Linked DNA regions of Homo sapiens: regions 1, 3 and 4 are each linked to region 2. Evidence: promoter capture Hi-C in 16 types of primary human blood cells and fetal thymus (Javierre and others, 2016). All regions are on one chromosome and are shown on one strand. The core of a region is centred on a gene start or on the middle of the fragment in contact, and the rest is flanking DNA. Distances in the headings are between cores, read along the strand shown. Region 1 holds the start of TINF2 (TERF1 interacting nuclear factor 2). Region 2 holds the start of ZFHX2 (zinc finger homeobox 2). Region 3 holds the start of REC8 (REC8 meiotic recombination protein). Region 4 overlaps NRL (neural retina leucine zipper).

What was found. Contacts are between HindIII fragments. The CHiCAGO score rates a contact against its expected background, and 5 or more counts as called.
Region 1: the fragment with the promoter of TINF2 here is called in contact with the fragment with the promoter of ZFHX2 in region 2 in 1 of 17 cell types (naive CD8 T cells); the score reaches 5.9 in naive CD8 T cells.
Region 3: a contact is called between the fragment with the promoter of REC8 here and the fragment with the promoter of ZFHX2 in region 2, in 2 of 17 cell types (naive CD4 T cells and naive CD8 T cells). The highest score is 5.2, in naive CD4 T cells.
Region 4: a contact is called between a fragment that was not itself captured here and the fragment with the promoter of ZFHX2 in region 2, in 1 of 17 cell types (naive CD8 T cells). The highest score is 5.2, in naive CD8 T cells.

What each region holds. Positions count from the first base shown.
Region 1 is chr14:24,241,373-24,247,241 of GRCh38, forward strand. It overlaps TINF2 (TERF1 interacting nuclear factor 2), which reads right to left and starts at 1,251. Exons shown (of 9, transcript NM_001099274.3): 1 at 769-1,251; 2 at 518-622; 3 at 303-404. The coding sequence starts at 960. RefSeq lists enhancers at 1-19, 680-899, 970-1,229, 1,400-1,699, 5,551-5,750 and a silencer at 1,891-2,185. The HindIII fragment of the contact is 13,864 bases long and covers 1-5,839 here.
Region 2 is chr14:23,547,301-23,553,948 of GRCh38, forward strand. ZFHX2 (zinc finger homeobox 2) reads right to left here and starts at 4,465. Exons shown (of 10, transcript NM_033400.3): 1 at 4,043-4,465. It also overlaps a transcript of THTPA not described here. RefSeq lists enhancers at 510-1,133, 3,257-3,919, 4,769-4,818 and a silencer at 4,399-4,638. The HindIII fragment of the contact is 16,619 bases long and covers 2,905-6,648 here.
Region 3 is chr14:24,169,733-24,176,091 of GRCh38, forward strand. REC8 (REC8 meiotic recombination protein) reads left to right here and starts at 2,348. Exons shown (of 19, transcript NM_001048205.2): 1 at 2,348-2,876; 2 at 2,981-3,049; 3 at 3,167-3,309; 4 at 3,394-3,466; 5 at 3,559-3,679; 6 at 5,811-5,892. The coding sequence starts at 2,821. RefSeq lists enhancers at 1,760-2,260, 2,329-2,578 and a silencer at 2,109-2,158. The HindIII fragment of the contact is 5,740 bases long and covers 1-3,768 here.
Region 4 is chr14:24,085,226-24,091,529 of GRCh38, forward strand. The region is part of intron 1 of NRL (neural retina leucine zipper); the gene reads right to left. Among named protein-coding and RNA genes, the nearest start is that of PCK2, 5.9 kb to the right of the region's middle. RefSeq lists enhancers at 3,775-4,274, 5,190-5,239. The HindIII fragment of the contact is 5,113 bases long and covers 1,216-6,304 here.

The sequences.
Region 1 (5,869 bases), core at 1-2,500, 690 kb after region 2:
TAATCCTGGCCATTTGGGAGGCCGAGGTGGGCGGATCACTTGAGGTCAGGAGTTCGAGACCAGCCTGGCCAACATGGTGAAACCCCATCTCTACTAAAATACAAAAATTAGCTGGGCATTTGTAATCCCAGCTACTCGGGAGGCTGAGGCAGGAGAATCGCTTGAACCCGGGAGGCAGAGGTTGCAGTGAGCCGAGATTGTGCCACTGCACTCCAGCCTGGGCGACAGAGCAAGATTCCTCAAAAAAAAAAAAAAATGGGTTAGAGAAAATAGCCACATAATAGCCTTCAAACCAGTCTCACCTGCAGCTTCGAGGCCAAATCCACAGGAGCCTCTGACAGCTGCTTCACCTGCTGGTAAAAAGTTTCCTGTGCCTCCAAAATCTTCCTCAGATCCTGCTTTGTCTGTTGAGGATACAGAAGACAGAGAAGTTAGCACCAACATCCAGTAGACAGGAGGAGCAACTTTGCTGCACCAAGTGTAACTGGGGTCAGGGCTTGTTCCGGGGATTACTCACAGCCTTGGGATCCCGCACTATAGGTCCAGATTCTGGAAAGTGGTGATTCAGGGCTTTCAGGACTTGGGCCCAAGGCCGGCCCTGCAGGATCAGCTCCACCACCACCTGTACGGTACTGAATTCAGAATCCCCACTTCGGGGCAAGCTGACCTTTTCCAACTAGTCTCATCCCCAAGCTGTGGGCCCTTGTCAGGTGCTCGCATCCCGCCCCTTTCTTTCTTTCCCCTTCCAGGTCCTACTTGCTCCAATACCTTGGCCTTTAGGCCCATACAAAGGCGTTCGTGGTGCCGGTAGCGAACCAAGCCAGGGGCAACAGCGCGCAGAGATCGCAGAAACTCCAGTACTCGCGGAAAATGTTCCACGCAGCGTCCGCGCACAACCTGCCAGCTAGCCGCGGCGGCGAAGCGTAGAGCTGCGGGACCCGCCACCAGGGGCGTAGCCATGGTCGGCGGGCTCCGCCCGGAGGCGGTCCCTCCGGGTTCCTCACCCGGATGGGTGAGGCTTTCCGATCACTCCTAGGGGCGGGGCTTCTGGCAACTCCCTGTCGCTCCGGTCTGTCGGCTCTGGGTACCTCGCGATCTGACTCGGCTCCCTTCCATCGGCCCCCAGAATTCTGGGGGAGGGGGTCTTCTGGCTCGGGCTGGAGGAGCCTGAGTGGAGAAGCTGACCGTCTCCAGTGGCACTGGGTCGCTCAGCTTTAAACGTCGCCGCTGTCTCGAGCCCGAGGGTGCCTCACTTCCGGCTCCGCTACTAGCTTCCCTTGCCCCGGAAAAGGGCGGTAAGAGGGAGCCAATGGGCGGCCACAGAGGGAACCGTGACGGTGCGTCAGAAGGCCACGCCCCAGCGGAGCTGTAGCTGCCCGCTTCCTGCACTCTCTGCCGGCTGACATGAGTTGGCGGCTGAGGCTGTCGTGGCCGCTGAGGCTGTTGTGGCCGTTCGTCTGGGTCCTCCCAGCCTTGCTTTCTTCGCGGAGCCTGCGGAGAAGCCCCGTCACTCCCGTGAGGCTCGACTTCCTAGTCTGTAAAACGAGGATCATGCCACCGCCCTTTCCCACTGTCTTCACCCATCGAAATTTAGTTCTTTAAATTCCAGACCCGAGCCGGCGTCTACAAAGCCTTCCCCTCTGCGCGCGTCGCTTCCAGTAGGAATTCGACTGTTCCTTTTATAAAACAGAAGAGGGCGCCCGCCCTTAAAAAATAAAATACAGGCTGGGCGTGGTGGCTTGTGTCTAATCCCAGCGCTTTGAGAGGCCGAGGCAGGAGGGTCACTTGAGCCCAGGAGCTCCAGACAAGCCTGGGCGACATGGTGAAACCCCTTCTCTGCTAAAAGTACAAAAATTAGCTGGGCGTGGTGGCAGGCGCCTGTAATCCCAGCTACTCGGGAGGCCGAGGCAGGAGAATCGCTTGAACCCAGTAGACGGGAGGTGGCAGTGAGCCGCGATCTTGCCTCTGCATTCCAGCCTGGGCGACAGAGGGAGAATCTCTCTCAAAGAAAAAAAAAAAAAAAAAAAGAGGAAGAAGAAGAAATAGAATACAGGCTGGGGGCACGGTGACTCACACCTGTAATCCCAGCACTCTGAGAGGCCGAGAGGGGAGGATCGATCCGCTTGAGCCCAGGAGTTCCAGACCAGACTGGATCACATGGCGATAACCTGTCTCTACTGAAAATCAAAAAAACTAGCCGGGCGTAGTGGCACGCCTGTAGTCCCAGCTACTCAGGAGGCTGAGTTGGGAGGATTGTTTGAGCCAGGGAGGTTGAGGCTTCAGTGACTGCACTCCAGCCTGAGTGATAGAGTGAGACGGGGTCTCACACACACACACAAATTAGTTTCTTGTTTTAGGATTCTGTTGTGCACTGAACTTGTCAGCCCCCTAATGTAATTGACTGCTCTCCTTGACTGTCTCTTCCACAGGCTTCCTGGTGCCTCTCATTTCCATCAGCAAGCACAGAACCTAACACACAGCTTACACTCCTTAATTGTTGGCTGGATTAGTTGCCTGCCTTGACCACCTTACAAGGATTTAGTGAAACTGCTCCGTCTTTAGCCCATGTCTTCCATTCCCAGAGATAATGGTTCACACATCCTTGTCTCCGCCCCGGATCAGTCTCAGCTGATCCGCACATTCGACTGCCCAAGAAACACCCAGTCCCAAAGTACCCCAAATTGGATATGTGTGAAATTCTAGTTATCTTCCTTTTTCCCTTTATTTATTCCTTCTCTAATGTTCTTTCTTTCTTATGTAGATATGAACTTCTGTTGTTTTACTTTTTTTTTTTTTTGAGACGGAGTCTCGCTCTGTCGCCCAGGCTGAAGTGCAGTGGCGCGATCTCAGCTCACTGCAAGCTCCGCCTCCTGGGTTCACGCCATTCTCCTGCCTCAGCCTCCCGAGTAGCTGGGACTACAGGCGCCCACCACCGCGCCCGGCTTTTTTGTATTTTTAGTAGAGACGGGGTTTCACCGTGGTCTGGATCTCCTGACCTCGTGATCCGCTCGCCTCGGCCTCCCAAAGTGCTGGGATTACAAGGCGTGAGCCACCGCGCTCGGCTCTTTTTTTTTTTTTGAGGTGGGGAGACAGTCTCGCTCTGTTGCTCAGGGTGGAGTGCAGTGATCTTGGCTCACTGCAACCTCTGCCTCCTGGGCTTAAGTGATCCTCCTGCCTCAGCCTCCAAAGTAACTGGGGCTACAGGCATGCACCACCATGCCTGGCTCATTTTTTTCTATTTTTTGTAGAGACAAGTCTTTGTTGCCCAGGCTGGTCTCGAATTCCTGGACTCAAGCGATCTTCCCACCTCGGCTTCCGAAAGTGTTGGGATCGCAGGCGTGAGCCACTGCACGCAGTCCCTGGCTAATTTTTTAAAAAATCTTTTTTGGTGGGTGTGGTGGCTCATGCCTGTAATCCCAGAACTTTGGGAGGCTGAAGTGGGAGGATCACTTGAGGCCAGGAGTTTGAGACCAGCCTGGGCAATACAGTGAGACCCTGACTCTACAAAAAAAAAAAAAAAGAAAAATATGTTTTGTAGAGAAGGGGTGTCTCTCTGTGTTGCCCAGCCCAGTCTATCTTCATTTTTTGTTTTTTGTATTTATCCTGCTTGCTGCTCTCTGAGCTTCCTGGATCTGTGTTTTGTGTCTGTCATTAATTTGGGGGAAATTCTCAGTCATTATTGCCACATTTCTTATGTTCCTTTATTTTCTTCTCTGCCATTCTGATTATGTGTATGCTACAGCTTCTATAATTGTCCTACAATTCTTGGATATTCTGTTCTTTTTCATTTTTTTTTCTCATTGCATTTCAGCTTTGGAAATTTCTGTTGACATTTCTTCAAGCGCACCATGTTCTTTGGCCATGTCCAGTCTATTGATGAGCCCATCACAGACATTCATCATTTCTGTTACAGTGGGTTTTTTTTGTTTTTTGAGACAATGTCTTGCTTTGTTGCTCAGGCTGGAATGCAGTGGCTCAATATCAGCTCACTGCAACCTGTGTCTCCCAAGTTCAAGCGATTCTGGTGCCTCAGCCTCCCAAGTAGGTGGTACTACAGGTCGTACACCACCACGCCCGGCTAATTTTTGTTTTAGTAGAGATGGGGTTTTGCCATGTTGCCCAGGCTGGTCTCGAACTCCTGACCTCAAGCGATCCACCTGCCTTGGCCTCCCAAAGTGCTAGGATTACAGGCGTGAGCCACCGTGCCCAGCTGAATTACTCATTTTCAGCTGCTATCTCTGTGTAGCTGACTTCTTGGGAGTCCGAGGCAGGTGGATTGCTTGAGCCCAGGAGTTTGAGACCAACCTGGGCAAAATGGCGAGACCCCCGTCTCTACAAAAAAAATTGAAAAACTAGCCAGGCATAGATGTGCACACCTGTAGCCCCAGTTACTCAGGAGGCTGATGTGGAAAGATTGCCTGAGCCCAGGAGGTTGAGGTTGCAGTGAGCTGTAATCCAGCCTGGTTGCAATGAATTGCACTCCAGCCTGGGCAACAGAGTGAGAACAGAATGCAATGGATGTATTTCAAAGTGGCTACTTTCCTCCTCCCCTTTGCCAGAATCACGGGGCAGGGGGTTCTCCAGTTTTCACTGTGGGATCCTGGTAAAACTTGTGGCCATGTGCCATGGCTCACACCTAGGATTGCTTGAGGCTAGGAGTTCAAGACCAGTCTGGGCAACATAGTGAGACCATGTCTGTACAAAAACAAAACAAACAAACAAAAAAATCTAAAAGTTAACCAGGTGACTGGGCGCAGTAGCTCACACCTGTAATCCCAGCACTTCGGGAGGCTGAGGTGGGTGGATCACAAGGTCAAGAGATCAAGACCATCCTGGCCAACATGGTGAAACCCGTCTCTACTAAAAATACAAAAATTAGCTGGGCATGGTGGCGCGTGCCTGTAATCCCAGCTACTCAGGAGGCTGAGGCAGGAGAATCACTTGAACCTGAGAGGTGAGGTGGAGGTTGCAGTGAGCTGAGATCGCACCACTGCACTCCAGCCTGGTGACAGAGCGAGACTCCATCTCAAAAGAAAAAAAAAAAAAAGCCAGCCATGGTGGTACACACCTGCAGTCCTAGCTATTTGGGCTGAGGCAGGAGGATTGCTTGAGCCCAGGAGTTGGAGGCTGCAGTAAGCTGTGATTGCACCACTGCATTCCAGCCTGGGAAAAACAAAAACAAGAAACAAAAAATAAAAAACAAAAACCAAAAAAAGGGTAGGGTCCCCCCTAAGAATGGGACCCCTAGATGTTTTGTTTTTTTTTTTTTTTTTTGAGACAGTCTCACTGTCGCCCAGGCTGCAGTGCAGTGTCGTGATCTCGGCTTACTGCAGCCTCAACCTCCCCAGGCTCAGGTGATCCACCTCAGCCTCCCAAGTAGCTGGCATTACAGGCATGTGCCACCACACCCGGCTACTTTTTGTCTTTTTTGTAGAGATGGGGTTTTGCCATGGTGCCCAAGCTGGTCTCGAACCCTTGAGCTCAGTGATCTGCGTGCCTCAGCCTCACAAAGTGCTGGGATTACAGGCATGAGCCACCATGCCTGGCCACTATAGATTTTTTAGCTCTCAAATTTGTCCACCCTAAGCCTCCAGCTATGAGTCAATTACACTTTAAGTTTTCCTACCCTGGTACTGGCTCCCCAGAAGTTTCTGTTTCTGTTTCTGTTTCTGGGCTTCTGCTGTTAAGTTGTGATTCTCTGTATCTGCCTTTTTGTCTCTCCAGTTTTAGGGGCAGCAGTTTGCCCTGTGCCCTCAATTCTCTGATAGATCCAACAAGAGTTGCTGACTTTCAGTTTGTTCAGCATTTTTCTTTGTGAGGACAGGAGTGAGGACTCCTAAGCTTGTTACAGGCCAGACTAAAAACCAGA
Region 2 (6,648 bases), core at 3,215-5,714:
GTGTTTAGAATGGGTCTGGTATTGATTTATGAACTCCTTATTTGCGGCCATTGTATATATACGGTTATGACCAATTCAATTGTAGTTTCATGATTGGGAATGGGGTGGGGATGCTACTTTTAATTCACATTTGCCAACTCTCTCTTTGGAAACAACTCTCAACCTTTTCTGGAAACCGCCTCCTTTCTCTTCCCTCCTCCACATCTTCCTCTTGGGCTCCTAGGGCTGTTCATTCATGTTTTCCTCCAATTATCACTACAAAGACTCTGCACATGAGCCCTGAGAGTTCCCCTGGCTGCCTCCAAGTGTGACCCTAACCCAGTCTCTCCTGTCTGCCTCAGATCTCACTGTCACTGGTTAACTACCCTCCAGCCATTCCCTCCGGTTTCTGATTTCCCAGTTTGCCCATTAATGTAGACTTAGGTGGGGGGAGTGGGTGAAAATTAGGTGGGCAACTCTTTCCCCCAGCCTCTCCCTACTAATTCAACGTTTGATCAGTAGATATTTATTAAGCCTTTTCTGTGTGACAGACACTGTGCTAGGTGCTGGAAAACAATTGGAAACTAGACAGATGTAGCCACTCCTCAGATGACCATGTGACTAACCCTGAGTCTCTCACCAGACAGCTAAGTCTCTCAGACTAGGGGACTCTGTCCCATTTCCCCCCTTTCTGTACAGCCAAATTCCACTGTGCCCTCTGGCATTTCACAACCCTTCCCTTTTCTCAATCCCTGAATGAGTTTACACTCACACAGCCCCGATCCCTTCCCTCTGCATTCTAGCTTTAGTCTCCATTCCTAAACCCAAAGCCATTACACTTTCAACAACTCTCCTCCCCACTCACAAAGCCCTTCTCCTTTCACATTCTGTAACTGCCATTTCTAGTCCTCCTCTTCCGTCTCTGCCTGCCTTTTGATCCAACCATCCTGACCTCAATGCCCTGTCTTAGGTTCCTTCCTCTTGCTACTGTCAGGCTCTAGCAAACCTCAGGTGCTCACAAACAGGAGTTATTTGTGACAACTGTTGTTCTGAGCTGGGAAGAGCTCCAGGGAGGCAAGGTCAAGCTACCAGAGTCAGAAATCCTACCAATTCGACCCAGGCCCTGGCCCGTAGGTGATACAGCACCCCGGCAAAGCAGCAAGTGATTCCTGTATGGGTCTCAAGGTAACACCAGCTGCCTCTGACATCATGGAGGGAGGAACCCTGTCAGGTTGCCAAGGCAATACCAGCAATTTATGACATCAGAGGCTTGAGGTCTTTGGTTCTCAGGGGCTGGGAAGATTCAAGTTCCTCTCAGCTGAAGTTTATGGGAATTCTACTTTTTCATCTCTTTGCTTGTGTTCTGGCTTGGGAATGAAATACAAAGGCCTTTCGTGGGGGTAGTGAGTGATTAGGCCAATGAAATGAATGCTCGTGAGGTTCTCTCTCTCTCTGTCTCTTCCCTGGATATTTCTGCTTTCTCTCCCTCTCTTGGGCATTTCTCTCTTCTGGGGCTTCGCCCAGTGGTATTCCTGCTATTTGTGCTATGCTTTTTTTCCAACCCCCCGGCGCCCCCGCAGTGCTCTCGCTCTCTTCGCATCAGTCACGCTGTGTCCTCCTCACACCAGAGGCATTTGTTTCCTTTGATACCTCATCCTCTCCTCTTTTCCTCCTACCAAGCTCTGTGCAGCTCTGATCTGCCTCAGCACTCCTTCGTTTGCCATCCATTTACCTTCTTTGTACCATACTCTCTTCCCATCTCATCTTGTTCAGCAATTCCTCCCTTCCCCCTCTTTACTACTGTATTAATTTCATAGTGCTTTTTCTGTTGACCTCCACTTTAGGAATATTCTATCATTTCTCTTCCTTTTACCTTCTGTATTGCTATCAACACGTTTTGTTTCATTCTTCCAATTTCTTATTAATCACCCCTTGGTTCCTCCCCTGCCCCCGAGTCCGCATAGATTTTCCTCCCTTCCTTTGCACATCCCTCACGTCATACATTTCTCTACCCCATGTGTTTATTGCACCGACCACCCCTTTCTTTCTTTAATTCTGTTCACCTCTGAAATCGTCCATCTTCTGCCCATGTCTGCCTGCTCCTTTTACCTTTCCAAGCTCCTGAGGTTTGGAAAAACAATGATGGGCTAAAAACTAAGGTAAACTCTCCAGATCCTTTATCCACCCTTACTGTTCTTCAGGCTAAATGAACTTGGCTCCTTACATACGATAGCTTTTATTACACTAATAAACACTGCCTCATTAAAAAAAAATGGTGCTGGATCTAAATATGATAGTAGCAGGGGCCTAGGAAGAAGATGAACTAAAAAGTGAAGAAAAAGCAACTGATATCTAGAATGAACTGAAGGATGGGGGGCAACCAGGCAGGGTGGAGCTTAGAGTCCTAGGGAATGTCCCCTTACAAAATCAAAGTTGACAGTTAACTGACATAATGGCACTGACTGATGGAGGGGTTATATGCCCCTGGAAGCTCATTAAATTTATTTCTTGGCCTGTTTATGTGCCTTCACAAACCATACCCCACACCTCTCCCAGCCCTTTGCTTGCTGGTACTTTCTGCTGCTGGGGTTAAAATGCTGGATAAGAGGAAAAGGGATAAAAGAAACTAGAAACTTAGGGTGATCAAGAAGAAAAGGTAGGAAGAGGGCAGATTATGGGAACAAAGGTGGAAACTCAGAGCTCATGGGAAACAGATGGAAAAAAGGGGTGAAGCAAAATGGGGAAATAAAAAATATACAATGATACAGTGGGGGAAGGGAGTAAAATTAAGTCAGCAGGGAAGAGGTTTTGTTGTGCGAAGCTCCTGGAAAGGCAGATGACACGCATGAGACCAGAAGGTGAGGTTCTGATGAGGGAGACAGGCACATGGCAAAGGGGACAGTCAACAATGCTAGGAAGTTCCAAAGCTTCTCTGGTGATGGTGGAAGAGGAGGCTGTCCTGGCCATGCTGAAGGCACTAGAGGCTTTGGCGAAGACACATTTGCTCCATCATCCCACTCCTCCAGGCCCTGACTGTGACCACCACAATCATGACTGATAAGCAAATTCCAAAGTAGCCTGAAAAGGCCAGAGATATCCAGACAGACTCTGAAGGAGAGGGCATGGAATCCTAGACCGACAGAACAGGCAGCCAAGGCGTGACACATAGTGATAGAGACACACAAGGAGAGGATCACTCAGATGGGAAGGGTCACAAGTGGAGACAGTGACATACAGATCCAGAGATGGATGGGATGGAAGAGACAAGATGAAGAACAGCAAAACCAAAAGTCAGGGACACATGGACAGAGATCAGCGGGGCTACAGGCACAGCGAGGAAGCGTGGTCCTGTGCTTGAAAATGATAGGGCTGCTCAGAGGGGCAGACGAGCGGATGGGGGTGGTAGGATGGGCGTGCAGGACAGACACGCTTCACCTTGAATGGGCTTATGGCCTCCCCTCACCTACTCAACACTTTCAAAAAAAGGAATGGAAAGCCCAACTTCAGCCAAAAACGAACGAAGACTGAGAGTATCCACGTCCCCTCCCACTCCACGCCCCAGCGCGCTAGCCCATCCATCAGCCCGCCGGCCGCGGTTCTCCCATCCCACAGCCGGCGGGGGGCCGCCGAGACCCAGGACCCTCCAGGCTGACAGCTCTGAGCCCTCACACTCACCGGGCCTCCCCTTCCCCCCGGGATCCCCGCTCCCTGCCCAACTCGGCGCGGTCCGTCTAGGCTTTCCATACCCTTCGTCTGTCCGGCGGGCCTCTGCCTTTCCCGTTCCCGTTTCTCCCTCCACCCCCGCATCTCTCTTCCCCCATCCTCGCGCACGCCCTCTTCCTCCCACACCCCTGTCTGCTATCTCCCAGGGCTCTCGGTCTGTCTGTCCGTCCGTCCTTGTCCCCTCCCCCAGCCCCTTCCCGTCCCTCTCCGTCCCCTCCAGCGGCAGTCTCCAAGCGCCTCCTCTCCCGTCTCGAGCTTCCAAAGAGCAAGGAAGGGAAGAAGAGAGAGAGGGAGAGGAGAAAAAAACCAACCCAGCAGCATCGGAAATCGATGCACTTACACCTCAGCTGGAAGCAGGGACGGGAGTCGAACCGCGGCCACCGAGCAGCGCGAGGCGGGGAGGGGAGGGGGCGGCTCTTGGAAGGGACTTCTCCGATGTGTTGATTCCTCTTTTTTCCCCTCCTCCTCCCTCCCTCCAGCGCTCGCTCCGGGGCGTCAGGGACGGAGACGGAAAAAAATAAATAAATAAATTCACGGCGGTGAGGGAAGTGAAGGAAAATAATCAATGCTATTTGGCTGCGGCTGAAGTGTTTCCCCGGCTTCGTGAGGGGGTTTCCATTGATTCACCCTGGGCACTCGCTCGCTCCCTGCCTCCTCCTCCTCCTCCTCCTTCTCCTCCTCGCCCTCCTCCTCCTCCTCCTCCTCGCCCTCACTCCTCCGCCTCATTCACTGGCTGGAGTCTAGGCGTCCCACACAATGGAATAATCAATACCCAGGCGCCCGGGGCTGCCCCACTGAGCAGGTGCAGCGACCCGCCCGCCGCGGCGCATGCCGGGAGTTGTAGTCTGTTCGCGCCCGCCCGCCTGCCTCGCGGGACCCAGGGCCGGGGGCAGGCCGGCCAGCCCACCAGGTCGCCTCCAGGTTCAAGCCGGTGCCTGCAAAGAGGGCAGGCCCCTTTAAACTCTTTTCCGTCTCCTCTCCTCTTCATCCTGTGGCCTGCAGAAACCATACATGTGTTTTGTTGTTTTGTTTTAAATCAGCTTCAGAACAAGCCCTGAGCCGCCCAAGGCCTCCTTTTTTCATTCTCTTCTTCCTGCCTTATTATTCCGCCTCCCCCATCTCCCCCCGCGAAATTGGGTACTAGAACCTTCTCTACCGCAGCAATTACTCTTTAGTCTCTGAGAGCTTCTGCCTCCTCCACACGGTTACATAGTCCCCTGAGCTGGGTTGGGGGAGGTTCGGGCTCCTCCTCATCTTCAGTTTATCGCTTATTAAGTGCTCCTGAATTTTTTTTTTTTTTTTTTTTCTGGAGACGGAGTCTCACTCAGTCGCCCAGGTTGGAGTGCAGTGGTGCGATCTCGGCTCACTGCAACCTCCACCACCGGGTTCAAGCGATTCTCCTACCTCAGCCTCCTAAGTAGCTGGGATTACAGGCATGCATCAACACACCCAGCTAATTTTTGTATTTTTAGTAGAGACGGGGTTTCACCACGTTGGTCAAGCTGGTCTCGAACTCCTGACCTTGTGATCCGCCTGCCTCGGCCTCCCAAAGTGCTGGGATTACAGGTGTGAACCACCACCGCGCCCAGCCCGTTTTTTTGTTTGTTTGTTTTTTTCTTGAGACAGAGTCACTCTGTCGCCCAGGCTGCAGTGCAGTGGCATGATCCCGGCTCACTGCAACCTTCACCTCCCAGGTTCAAGTGATTCTCCTGCCTCAGCCTCCCAAGTAGCTGGGATTGTAGGTGCCCACCACCATGCCCTGCTAATTTTGTATTTTTAGTAGAGACGGGGGTTTCACCATCTTAGCCAGGCTGGTCTCGAACTCCTGACCTCAGGTGATCCACCGGCCTCAGCCTCCCAAAGTCCTGGGATTATAGGGGTGATCCACCTCACCCGGCCGCTCCTGTATTCTAATAATAATTTTTAAGATTTCTTGAATGCACAGGGACAGTTCCAAGCACTTTTACATACATTGTTTACTCCTCTCAATACCTCAAGCATGAGGTAGATGCTATTATAGTCTCATTTATTGAGGAAACTAAGGCACAAACAAGTGAATTAACAGGCCCAAGGTCCAATGGCCAATAAGTAAGTGACAGTGCCAGGACTCAAAAACCTCCATGGTCTGGCTCCAGGGCCCATACTAACTGCTATAGCCTACTTCTCTTAAACAACACAACAAAACCCTGAAGTTCACATGACAAAAAGGAGAGATAAATGAACATTTTGAGTTTATACTATGTGACAGTTTATGACTGAATCCTCACAGGTAACTGTGAGGCAGGCCACATTTTCTCAATGAAAAAGCAGAGGCTGGCCGGGCATGGTGGCTCACTCCTGTAATCCCAGCACTTTGGGAGGCTGAGGTGGGTAGATCACCTGAGGTCAGGAGTTCGAGACCAGCCTGACCAACATGGTGAAACCCTGTCTCTACTAAAAATACAAAATTAGCTGGGCGTGGTGGTGGGCACCTGTAATCCCAGCTACTCGGGAGGCTGAGGCAGAAGAATCGCTTGAACCCGGGGGGCAGAGGTTGCGGTGAGCCAAGATCACACCATTGCACTCCAGCCTGGGCAACAAGAGTGAAACTCCGTCTCAAAACCAAAAACAGGCCGGGCGTGGTGGCTCACACCTGTAATCCCAGCACTTTGGGAGGTGGAGGCGGGTGGATCACAAGATCAGGAGATCGAGACCATCCTGACTAACAGGGTAAAACCCCATCTCTACTAAAATTACAAAAAATTAGCCGGGCATGGTGGTGGGCACCTGTAGTCCCATCTACTTGGGAGGCTGAGGCAGGAGAATGGCATGAACCCTGGAGGCGGAGCTTGCAGTGAGCCGAGATGGCGCCACTACACTCCAGCCTGGGCGACAAAGCGAGACTCCGTCTCAAACAAACAAACAAACAAAAATTAGGAGGGTGGGGTGGCACGTGCCTGTAGTCCC
Region 3 (6,359 bases), core at 1,098-3,597, 620 kb after region 2:
AGGCTTCCCTGAGTACCCTCCCTAAATAGCAGCCGTCATTATTCTATCCTCCTATGCTGCCTCATTTTCTTCATAGCACTTACGGCCACTTCATGTATTTCTTTTTTTCTTTCTTTCTTTTTTTTTTTTTTTTTGACAGAATCGCCCATGCTGGAGCACAGCAGTGCAATCATGGCTCACTGCAGCCTCGACCTTCGGCTCAATCGATCCTCCTGTCTCAGCCTTCTGAGTAGCTGTGACTATAGGCATGTAATTTGAGAGGCCGAGGCGGGTGTCACCTGAGGTCAGGAGTTTGAGACCAGCCTGGCCAACATGGTTGAAACCCTGTCTCTACTAAAAATACAAAAAAATTAGCCAGGCATAGTGGCACATGCCTGTAGTCCCAGCTACTCAGGAGGCTTAGGTAGGAGAATTGCTTGAACCCAGGAGGCGGAGGTTGCACTGAGCCAAGATGGTCCATTGCACTCCAGCCTGGGCGACAAGCAAAATTCCATCTCAGAAAAAAAAAAAAAAAAAAAAAAAAAAAACTCTCAAATTGAAGGGGACTGTAAGAAGATAGGGTCAGCTCAGCTGCAGTAAGATATAAGTCTCAGGAAGAAGCATGCTCTGGAGTCAAGGCAGAGAAGGACATTCTAGGCCAAAGAAATGGCTGTGCAAAGGTAGGAGGCATAGGGACAAGGGTTATTATTACAACTGTACCTCTTAAATTTACACAATAATTGTTGAGAATATGGCTTTTCCAGGCTAGGAAGTTGTGCTGCATCCAAAAATGCTAAAGTCTATTTCAGCCGGGAGAACACTGACAGCTGGGAAAGGACCACACGTGGCGTGCCCATAACCTAAGTTGTTCAGATTTAGGAAGTGACCCCAGTAAGTCCTTTCGGAGTTTCGTGTAAGATTGACTTCTTCAGCTGGGGGCAGTGGCTCACGCCTGTAATCCCAGCACTTTGGGAGGCCAAGGCGGGCGGATCACCTGAGGTCAGGAGTTCGAGACCAGCCTGGCCAACATGGTGAAACCCCTGTCTCTACTAAAAAATACAAAATTTAGCCAGGTGTGGTGGTGGGCGCCTGTAATCCCAGCTACTCGGGAGCCTGAGGCAGGAGAATCCCCTGCACCGGGGAGGCGGAGGCTGCAATGAGCTGAGACTGCGCCACTGCACTCCAGCCTGGGTGACAGAGTGAAACTCCATCTCAAAAAAAAAAGAAACCAGCCTGGCCAACATAGTGAAATCCCGTCTCTTCTAAAAATGCAAAAATTAGTTGGGTGTGATGGAGGGCGCCTGTAATCCCAGCTACTCAGGAGGCCAAGACACGAGAATCGCTTGAACCTGAGGGGATGGGGGGCAGAGGATGCAGTGAGCCGAGATTGCCGAGATAGCGCCACTGCATTCCAGCCTGGGCAACAGTGAGAGCCTCCATCTCAAAAAAAAAAAAAAAAAATGGACTTCTTCCTCATTGACCTGTGGTGGCTCCAAGGCCATCAAAAAAAAAAAAAATGGACTTCTTCCTCATTGACCTGTGGTGGCTCCAAGGCCATCATCTCACAGCCTTTTTTTTTTTTTTTTTTTTTGAGACGGAGTCTTGCTCCCTTGCCCAGGTTGGAGTGGAGCTGCATGATCTCGGCTCACTGCAACCTCCGCCTCCCAGGTTCAAGCATTCTCCTGCCTCAGCCTCCTGAGTAGCTGGGATTACAGGCGCGTGCCACCACGCCCAGCTAACTTTTGCATTTTTAATAGAGACGGGGTTTCACCATATTGGTCAGGCTGGACTCGAACTCCTAACCTCATGATCCGCCCGCCTCGGCCTCCCAAAGTGCTAGGATTACAGGCGTGAGCCACTGCGCCCGGCCTCATCTCACATCTTTCTTCCTCTGCAGCACACGACACGCCCTAGTTGGAAACAAAGTCGGAGTTTGTGGATTGGGGGAAGGGCGGGGTCTAACCTCAGGTCAGGCGCCGTGCAAGGTACATCTTGGCACCCGGAAGAGGCCCAGTACAGTTGCCCCCGAGGTGACCCGACCTCCCCTACCAATTGAGGCGCCCTTGTTGCCAGGCTTGCGGCGGGGGAGCGGCGGGGGAGCGACGGGGATGCGCTCATTGGTCAAGGAAGGGGCGCCTGTTACTAGAGGCGAGAACCGGAGCCCATTGGTCGGAACACCTCACAATGGACCCCAGCGGCGCGCAAAATCCTTATGATTGGTTTGCTGGCTGCCTCGGGAGACCCTGTTGCCAGGATACTTGGCGTTCCCGACCCGACCCCCGTTCCCCATTGGCTGTCAGGGCAAAAGCCGCCATCTAATGAGGAGCGAGGTGCGGTGCCCCGAAGCGCTCGCTTCCCGCGGTGCGATCTAGTCCTGCAGTAGGCGGCCCGGGGCCACACCGCGGCCGCCCAAGCCAGTGCAAGGCCCAGGGGCCTGACATCGCTCCCAGCGCTCGAGGACCGAGGCCTGCTGTGGAGGACACCGTGCTCCCTCGGGACCTGCTCTGGATTCCGGCCCGGACGTCCCCTTGGAGCTCTGCATCTCCAACCTGGAACCCAACCCAGAAGTCTCAAGTTTGACGCATCACGTGGCGTGCGGATCCACTGAGGGTCCACAGAGAGGGGCGCCCATCTCCTGCGTCTCAGTTATCCTGGTAATTGTGTATCTGCCCATTGTTCGTTGCCTCATTAACTTGGCTTTCTAGGTGCACCCACCTTGCCACCAGAGAAGTCCAAATCCTGACTTCTCTCCAAGGTGTTGGGAATTCTGTGCCCTAAAGAATTCCGACTCAGATCCGAACGGGGATCTGGTGGAATCGAGGGTGAAAGACCAGAGGGACAATGTTCTACTATCCCAACGTGCTTCAGCGCCACACCGGCTGCTTTGCCACCATCTGGTAAGGGCGGGGCCCGTTGGCGCGCGATGGCGGACGCTGCCCGGGATCCCAGCCTGACAGCTCCCCCTCCATCCCCATTCTCCCACCTTCCCCACCCACTTCAGGCTGGCGGCGACTCGCGGCAGCCGGTTGGTGAAGCGCGAATACCTGAGGGTGAATGTGGTGAAAACCTGGTAAGGCCCAGAAAAGGGAAGGAGGGCCTGGTGCGGGGGGTGAGTTAGGGGATGGGGTGGCCAAGACTGTGGGCCCACTCCTGGACGCAGCGGTAATCAGGGCGCATTGTTCCCCAGCGAGGAAATCCTCAATTACGTGCTGGTACGAGTGCAACCCCCGCAGCCCGGCCTGCCGCGGCCCCGCTTCTCCCTCTATCTCTCAGCCCAACTTCAGATCGGTGTGATCCGCGTCTATTCTCAACAATGCCAGTACCTCGTGGGTAAGGCTGGGAACCCTCAAAGGTGGGGCGGGCTGAGCAGCTGTCTGCTAAGCTGGCTGTCTACCTCGTCCTCCCTGCCCACAGAGGACATCCAGCACATCTTGGAGCGCCTCCACCGTGCCCAGCTGCAGATCCGAATAGATATGGAGACTGAGCTGTGAGTGTGCCCTGGGCCTTTGATGGAACACCTGCTAGCTTGGCCTCAGCCTGGCTCAGCCTCAGTCCTTCACGGCCTACATTCTCTCCCAGACCCAGCCTGCTGCTTCCTAACCACCTGGCCATGATGGAGACCCTAGAAGATGCTCCAGATCCCTTTTTTGGGATGATGTCTGTGGATCCCAGACTTCCTAGTCCTTTCGATATCCCTCAGGTAGGGCTCATTCCCCAAGACTCGTGAATTGGCAATGCAGAAGGGGAGTGCTGTCCCTGTGTCACTCTGACATTGGGGTTGGGGAAGGAAGCTTACCACAGCTCTCTCCCACAGGAGATGGTGCAGGGGGACTGCCAAGGTGGACCCATCCAGGCGAAGCCCCCTGTACTTACCTACTCAGGGCCAATCTGATCAGACGGTTTCCCCACTGGAGGCAGCTCTTGTCCCCACTTGTCTCCACACTGTTTTCACTGCCAAGGCCCTAATCCAGGCTCTCATCTCTCTGCACTGGGCTTTCTTACCCCTGTCCTCCTCCATCTATTCCCAATACTCCTACAGCTTAATGTCACCCCCTTCCTTGGTTCCCCATTTGAACAGTGGCTCCTGCTGCAAACAGATTACTAGCATTTGGGGCTCTCCATGCCCCATTTATTTCTTTTTTTATTTTATTACTATTATTATTATTATTTTTGAGACAGGATCTTGCTCTGTGGCCCAGGCTGGAGTGCAGTGGCACGATCTCAGCTTACTGCAACCTCTGCCTCCCCGGTTCAAGCAATTCTCCTGCCTCAGCCTCCCGAGTAGCTGGGACTACAGGCATTTGCCACCATGCCCAACTGATTTTGTATTTTTAGTTGAGACAGGGTTTCACCATGCTGGCCAGGCTGGTTTCGAACCCCTGACCTCATGATCTGCCTGTCTCCTCCTCCTGAAGTGCTGGGATTACAGACATGAGCCACAGAGCCCGGCCCAATTTTTTTAGGGTTTCGCCTTATCGGCCAGGCTGGTCTCGAACTCCAGACCTCAGGTGATCCACCCACCCTGGCTTTCCAAAGTGCTAGGATTACAGACGTGAGCCATCGCGCTGGCCTATTATTATTATTTTTTGAAATGGAGTCTCTGTCACCCAGGCTGGAGTGCAGTGGCATGATCTTGGCTCACTTCAACCTCCGCTTCCTCTGGTCAAGCGATTCTCCTGCCTCGGCCTCCCGAATAGCTGGGATTACAGATGCCTGCCACCATGCCCGGCTAATTTTTGTATCTTTAGTAGAGATGGAGTTTCATCATGTTGGTCAGACTGGTCTTGAACTCCTGATCTCAGGCACTCCACCCGCCTCGGCCTCCCAAAGTGCTGGGATTACAGGTGTGAACCACCGTGCCTGGCACATACCCCAGTTTAGAACTAGTCATCCCCAGACTTCTCTCTCAGTCCTCTGGGCATCTGTGGCTCCTAAACACTAGTTTGGCCCTTATGCCTCAATGATGCCACATTCACATCTTTGCTTGTACTGTTTCCCTAGCCCATAATGGTCACCCCTCATCCTCTACAAGTCGGGTTCTACATATTCTTACAGACCTGGCTCAAATGCTGCCCTTCTCTATGAAATATTTATCCCAGTCTTAGCCGGAACCAAATGCAGTTTGGGAACTCAGTACTTTGCTAGGGCCTTGTTTTACCCTTTGCCTTGACTCTTGTGGGGTTACATACAACCTTGTCTCCCCACTAGACTTCCTTAAGATCAAGAATCTTTTCTGTTCACCTCTGTCAACCACAACACTTGCCAAGGATAACGATGCACTGCTGCTTGCACAAATTTTTTTTTTTTTTTTTTGAGACAGAGTCTTGCTCTGTCACCCAGGCTGGAGTGCAGTGGCTCAATCTCAGCTCACTGCAATCTCTGCTTCCCAGGTTCAAGCAATTCTCCTGTCTCCGCCTCTCAAGTAGCTGGAATTACAGGCACTGCTACCAAGCCCGGCTAATTTTTGTATTTTTAGTAGAAATCAGGTTTCACGATGTTGGCCAGGCTGGTCTGGAACTCCTGACATCAAGTGATCCACCCACCTCAGCCTCCCAAAGTGCTGGGATTACAGACATGAGCCACCGAGCCCGGCCTTCTTGCACAAATTGATGAGGGCTAGATAACTGGGGTGCGGGTTGGGGAGGGAGGTGAGAACAGGAACTGAGGAAAGAAGACCAGAGGGCGGGTGAGTTTACTGCAAGCTGATGTCAATGCAACAAGAATTAGGCATAAAAGGAGATTACCGTGCATTGTTGAAGAAGGCTGTGAAAAGTGGGAAAGCAGGGGGCTGAAGCTGAACCCTATCTTTTGTTTCCAATCCCTCTCCAAAGATTCGACACCTCTTAGAGGCTGCAATCCCAGAGAGAGTTGAAGAGATCCCTCCTGAAGTTCCTACAGAGCCCAGGGAGCCAGGTCAGCAGAGAGAACCTTCTTTCTGGTGAGAGGCATAGGCAGGCCCAAGAGCTGTAGAAATGACCATTTTTGAGCTTAAGAGCCAGGCCTTGTGAGGGGCGCTTTTTTTTTTTTTCGAGGCAGAGTCTCACTCTGTTGCCCAGGCTACAGTGCAGTGGCACGATCTCGGCTCACTGCAAGCAATTGTCCCGCCTCAGCCTCCCTAGTAGCTGGGATTACAGATGTGCACTACCATGCCCGGCGAATTTTTGTATTTTTAGTAGAGATGGGGTTTCACCATGTTGGCCAGGCTGGTCTCAAACTCCTGACCTCAGGTGATCCACCCGCCTCGGCCTCCCAAAGTGCTAGGATTACAGGTGTGAGCCACCGTGCCTGGTGAGGGGCATTTTATGTGTATAACCTCATCAGTACCTCACAAGAGTCCTCTGAGGTCAGATTTCTTATCCTTTTTTTTTTTTGAGAGATGG
Region 4 (6,304 bases), core at 2,522-5,021, 540 kb after region 2:
CTTGCTAATCCAGCTTGGGAGAAAGAGTAGGAAAAAAGAGAACAGGGAACTCTGTTCCTTCCTTCTGGGCCTCAAGGGACATTGAAATCTAATCACCACCAGTCCGTCGGAGACACTTTTGTAACTGGCCTCATATGCCCTCTGCTTTCTCTCACCTTTTCCCTGTGTGTGTCTCTGCCCCTCTCTCCTCTCTCACTCATTCTAGTTCCCAGATGGCTGAGGGGTGACCTACATTTTCAGCCTAATCCCCTAACACCTCTTAGAGCTATCATCCCTGAGTAGGAGTGGGAACAGGGATACTAGGAATTATCCAAGGAGATGTTTAAACCTGTCCGAAGCTGTTTAAATAGGGTCTATGGAGTTAAAGGCCACTTCCTACCTTCTGAGGCCACCCAAATACTCCCATGGGGTTAATAGTTCCTCTTTCTCAACACAGAGGCCTGGGTGTCCATCAGACCCCAAAGGTCATCACTTATAAAACTTAACCTGGTCCCAGCCTTATATGTTGGGGAAAAGCTGGCAGATACAGATTATCTAAGAAGGTGGTTTCTGAAGTGTGGTCCCCAGAGCAGCAGCATCCATATCACCTGGGAACTTGCTAGAAATACATGTTACCTGATCTCACCTTAAATCTACTGAGTCAGAAACTCCGGGGGTGGGGCCCAGAAATCTGTGTTTTAAGGCCCTTCCAGCAAGTCTGACATGCTTGAAAGTTTAAAGGCCAGGCACGCCTGTAATCCCAGCATTTTGGGAGGCCAAGGTGGGCGGATCACTTGAGGTCAGGAGTTCAAGACCAGCCTGGCCAACATGGTGAAACCCCATCTCTACTAAAAATACAAAAATTAGCTGGGCATAGTGGCAGGCACCTGTAATGCCAGCTACTCCTACTGAGGCAGGAGAATCACTTGAACCTGGGAGGCGGAGGTTGCAGTGAGCCGAGATCGTGCCCCTGCACTCCAGCTTGGGCAACAGAGAGAGACTCCATCTCAAAAAAAAAAGAAGAGAAAAGAAAGAAAGTTTGAGAACTGCACAGAATGCCTGCAGTCTACCCAGCTTCCCTGGGGAGGCATGTATATATGTCTGTCTGTGCATGTGTATGTGGTCTCTCCTACCATGCTTTCCATACACATATTGGAAAACCTAGATCAGATGACATCACTCTCTTCCCACACCTGGGTTTCTGTTTTAAGGAGCAGAAACCATCGTCACCATTCAAGCTTCTCTGTGTGACTGCCTGGATCTACTGCTGTTTTCTCAAAAGAATAAAAAAGCCTAAGGCCTAGGAACCAACCACAAAATGGGAATGAGGATCATGGAGAGGCAGGACCCCACACACATGCCCATGGAATGTAGCTCTCCAAAGTGGACACCCAGGAAAGAGACTCTACAATTTCCCTGGTTGAAGAAGGAATGGGAAGTGTTGAGTGCAGCCCCTTTTTCATGCCTGCTCTGGCCTGGCCAGACACTTGCCCCCAACCAGCAGCTGTCAGGTCTGCACTGATCCTCTTGTTTACTGGAGGGCTCAAAGGAGAGGTGGGAGGGCTAAGCTGCTAACGGGCTAAGGGAGTCAGACTAAACAAGCTCAGGCGAGTTGAGCTGCTTGGGGCTCAGACCAGGCACCACTAAACCAGGGAAAGGAGCTGGGGGAGTGAGGGTTGGGCCCAGTCTGGGCCAGAGGAAAGGACCAAGGGCACAGAGAGGAGAGTCTGTGGCAGTCAGTGGGGACCCAGAAAGCAGAGCCCATCTCCCATATCCACTGGAGACTGAGAAATGAATACTGAGACTAATGGGCTCAAGGACATCTAGGGATGAAAAAGATGAAGCCAGTGTGACTCCAGGAATAATAGAACAGAGGAAGGAGACTAAGGAGGCAGTAGGTGTAGATGTGAGATAGAGGACAGGACAAGTCAGGGTCTCCATGGGGATTTGGATTAAAGGAGACAGAAAGATGTAGGCACATGGACGAGATGGATAAAGAAAGGAAGTCTTCCAGGAGAGGACCAAGAAGGGAGTAGGGGACAACAAGGACTAGAACAGTAAGAGTGGTAGAAGGAAGGGACAGGACATAAGATTGGGGACCAAGACCTAGACACCAATACAAAGAAATAGACACATAGGCCACAGAGGAAGAGCAGTGGCCAAAGGACAGAAAGGTAGCAAGATATGGATGGAGTGATATTGGACCATGGGGAAAGAGGGGCAGGCAGGCAAAGGGCCTGCAGGAGTGGGGTAGAAAATGAAGAGGAAGGAGAGAAAATGAGACAGTCAGCATTCCAGGATGCTACCTCCTCTCCTCTGTCCTGCACTCTCATTTTTGGAACCCTGAAAGACTGGTTCTCATTCCTACTTCTGGCTCATGGTATCTAGATCTTCAGTAATAGATCCAAATCCTCAACCTCTTCTTGGTGTACCTCCTACATTCTTTTGAAAAATGCATATTAAACACCTATTCTGCACCACATCCTGAGTAAGGCATTAGCGACCCCTCAGTAACTTACACTAATACCAGCCCTGACTTCAAGAAACTTACAGACTGATGAAACAGAGAAACATCAAATTATTGCCCTTTGGCTGGGTGCAGAGGCTCATGCCTGTAATCCTAGCACTTTGGAAGGCCAAGATGGGTGGATCGCTTGAGCCCAGAAGTTCGACACCAGCCTGGGCAACATGGCAAAACCCTGTCTCTACTAAAAATACAAAAACTGAGGTGGGAGGATCAGGAGCCTGGGGAGGATGAGGGTGCAGTGGGCCATGATGGTGCCACTGCACTCTAGCTTTGGAGACAGAAAGAAACCCTGTCTCAAAAAAAAAATAATAAATAAATTATTGTCCTTAGGCCCAGGCAGGAGTGGCCCCTGCCCTGGGCCCTGTGCTTTAGAAGGCTCCACTCTGGCCTCCTCTGGCTATGTCCCACCACATGGGTGAGGAGTCCAACTATCCTCTGCCCATACCTTAATCCTCTCAGGACCACACTCCAGATAGCTAAGCATTCCCTGTCCAAAAGGCCCAAGCCCACTCCTAGGGCCCACGTGAACCTCTTCCCTGGGTTTGCCCTCCCACGGCTGGGCCACATGACTGGTTCACACATTCTGAGGTCAAAGGGTAGACAAGGGGTAGCTGCTTGCAGGAGACTGTGGACAGACTTGGGATGGCCTGATGGGAGGTCCACATGGTTCCACACAAGGCCCCTTGCAGTCCAAGATGGTGTCAGGGGTAGGAGGCAAAGTGGGCCCAGCTGAGGGCCAGTGGCCAAAACTACATCCCCCTACACCATCACATTCTGGTGCAGAACCCTGAGGATTCCAAATAAAATACAAATCTGAACCTGGCCTTCCAGGCCATTGTGAAGTATGTATTTGTCAATATATTTGTCAAGGTAGAAGAACAGAATATATTTTGTGTAACAGTTTGTTAGCCTGAATTATACTTTTTTTTTTTTTTTTTTGAGATAGCTCTGTCGCCCTGGCTGGAGTGCAGTGGTGTGATCTCGGCTTACTGCAACCTCTGTCTCCTGGGTTCAAGTGATTCTCCTGGCTCAGCCTATCAAGTAGCAGACATGCACCACCATGCCTGGCTAATTTTTTTTTTTTTTTTTTTTTTCACAGAGTCTTGCTCTGTCCCCCAGGCTGGAGGGCAGTGGCGCGATCTTGGCTGACGGCAAGCTCCGCCTCCCAGGTTCATGCCATTCTCCTGCCTCAGACTCCGGCTGGAACTACAGGCACCCGCCACCATGCCTGGCTAATTTTTTTTTTGTATTTTTAGTAGAGATGGGGTTTCACTGGGTTAGCCAAGATGGTCTCGATCTCCTGACCTCGTGATCCGCCCGCCTCGGCCTCCCAAAGTGCTGGGATTACAGGCGTGAGCCACTGCGCCTGGCCTAATTTTTGTATTTTTAGTAGAGACAGGGTTTCATGTTGGCCAGGCTGGTCTTGAACTCCTGACCTCAAATGATCCACCCGCCTCAGCCTCCCAAAGCGCTGGGGTTATAGGCATGAGCCACTGCGCCGACCCTGAGTTATACATTTTAATCTTTTTTTTTTGAGACAGGGTCTCGCTCTGTTACCCAGGCTGGAGTGCAGTGGTGCAATCATAGCTCACTGCAGCCTTGAACTCCTGGGCTCAAGCTATCTCCCACTTTAGTCTCCCAAGCAGTTGGGACTACAGGTGCACACCACCATGCCTGGCTACTTTTTTATTTTTTGTAGAGAAGAAGTCTCACTATGTTGTTCAGGCTGGTCTTAAACTCCTGGGCTCAAGTGATCCTCCAGCCTCTGCCTCCCAAAGTGCTGGGATTACAAGGCATGAGCCACCACACCCAGCCCATTTTAAATATTTAAACACAAGGTTTGAGGGCCTCTATTTGTACTCCTGCCGCAGGTCCTACATATGTTAGAGATGTGTCTACATAAAAACAAACCATTTAAACAGAGATGAATGTGCTAAGAAGAAGAAGGGCAGGGTGCTATGAAATTTTCTTCCACGAAGACATACTCTAATACAAAGCCAGAGGGGATGCATCACAGGGACAGGTTGCCTAAGAAAGTCATGCTAAACCAAGACTGGTCAGGTGAATAAGAAGTGACCCTGCCTGGAGGTGTGGACAGGGTGGGAATTCCAGGCGGCAGAAACAACATATGCAAAGGTTGTGAGGCAGGAAAGATGTAGACATGTTCACAAAACTGAGAAAAGATCCACGTAGCCAGAGAGTAGAAAGCCTGGAAGGTGGGAAGAACAGTGATAGCTGAGGCTGGAGAAGTCAGCAGGGGCCAGATCATGCAGAGCCTGGGAGGTCACATTAAGGGTTTGGGCTTTATTCTAAGAGCAGGGAGAAGCTACTGAAGGGTTTTCAGTAGAGACATGATGTGATCAGATTTGTGTTCGGAAGGATCACGTATGTCAGCACTTTGTGTTTGTGGAGGAAGGCAACAATGAAATAAGAGTCAGATTAGAGGACTAATGCCGTAACCAAGTTGAGCCTGAGGAATATTTGCAACTGGAAGCACACTCTGAGACAGAAACTTGTGTGCAGGTGGTTTACTCGGGGGGGGGGGGGGGGCACGGGGGGGGACTTTCAAAGAAAGAGTAGCAGGACCCAAGAGAGGGAACAGTTGAATGGCACTGCAGTTGTAATCAGCTGAGCCTAAAGAGCTCTGGGGCTGGGATGGACCTTCAGAGTTGTCCCAAACTGAGACAAAGGGCTAGGCCTCTGTACTTTATAACAACCATTCATTGGATACATACTGCCCCCAGGAAGCGGGCATTGCATTTGGTGAGACAGCTCCCTTTGGCCACAGATAGTGCTCAAGGAAGTACTCAGCTGTGAGCTATCAGCAGCCAACACTCAGCAGCTGGAACAATGAGCATCATGATCCTGAAGCGGGAATCTGGGCTACACACCACAGCATCACTACTCGGGCTGTGAGACTTCAGGGATGAACCCAGAGGCCCCAGAGAGGACAATGCAGATCACACTCTGCCCCCTGGTGGTACTCCTTGGACATAGGGCCAGCTGGTGGGCCAGGCTCTCCCGGCAGGGAACTAAAGAAAAGTGTGTGGCAGATAAGGGGAAATGAGCAGTGCAAGGAAATCTGCACGTGAGCCCCTTGCTCCATCTGCCTAAAGCTAGAGAAGAAAGTAATGGTGGGGAAGAAGAATTCAGAAACGTGGCACTCATTCATTCTTTTATTCAACCAACTTTTATTAAGTGCCTGTTATAGGCCAGGTACTGCTGGGAACTAGGAGAAAAACAAGACTGAAATCATCACTCTAGTGAGGATTACAGAGATATAAAAGTAACTACAGTATAGTAAAGTACAAAAATATAGGCATATACATGGGATAGAAGCAACACAGATGAAATAGATGTTCATTCTAAGGGACGAACAGAAAAGGCCTGTGTGTGTGTGTGTGTGTGTGTGTGTGTGTGTGTGTGTGTGTGTGTTAGAGACAGAGTCTCACTGTGTTGCCCAGGCTGGAGTGCAGTGGTGCGATCTCGGCTCACTGCAACCTCCGCCTCCCGGGTTCAAGCGATTCTCCTGCCTCAGCCTCCTGAGTAGCTGGGACTACCGGCGTGCGCCACCACACCAAGCTAATTTTTGTATTTTTAGTAGAGACGGGGTTTCACCATGTTGGCCAGGATGGTGTGTGTTTAATTTGAGTGCAGATGCCCAGAAAAAGTTCACAGAAGTGCTCTGGAAACTTCAGAGTTCAGTACGTAGGAGAAAAGGAGGCAAGTGGGGATGTGGGGGTGACAACATTAGATAAATAGGAGTCAGATTATGAAGGACATAAGATATCATGTGAT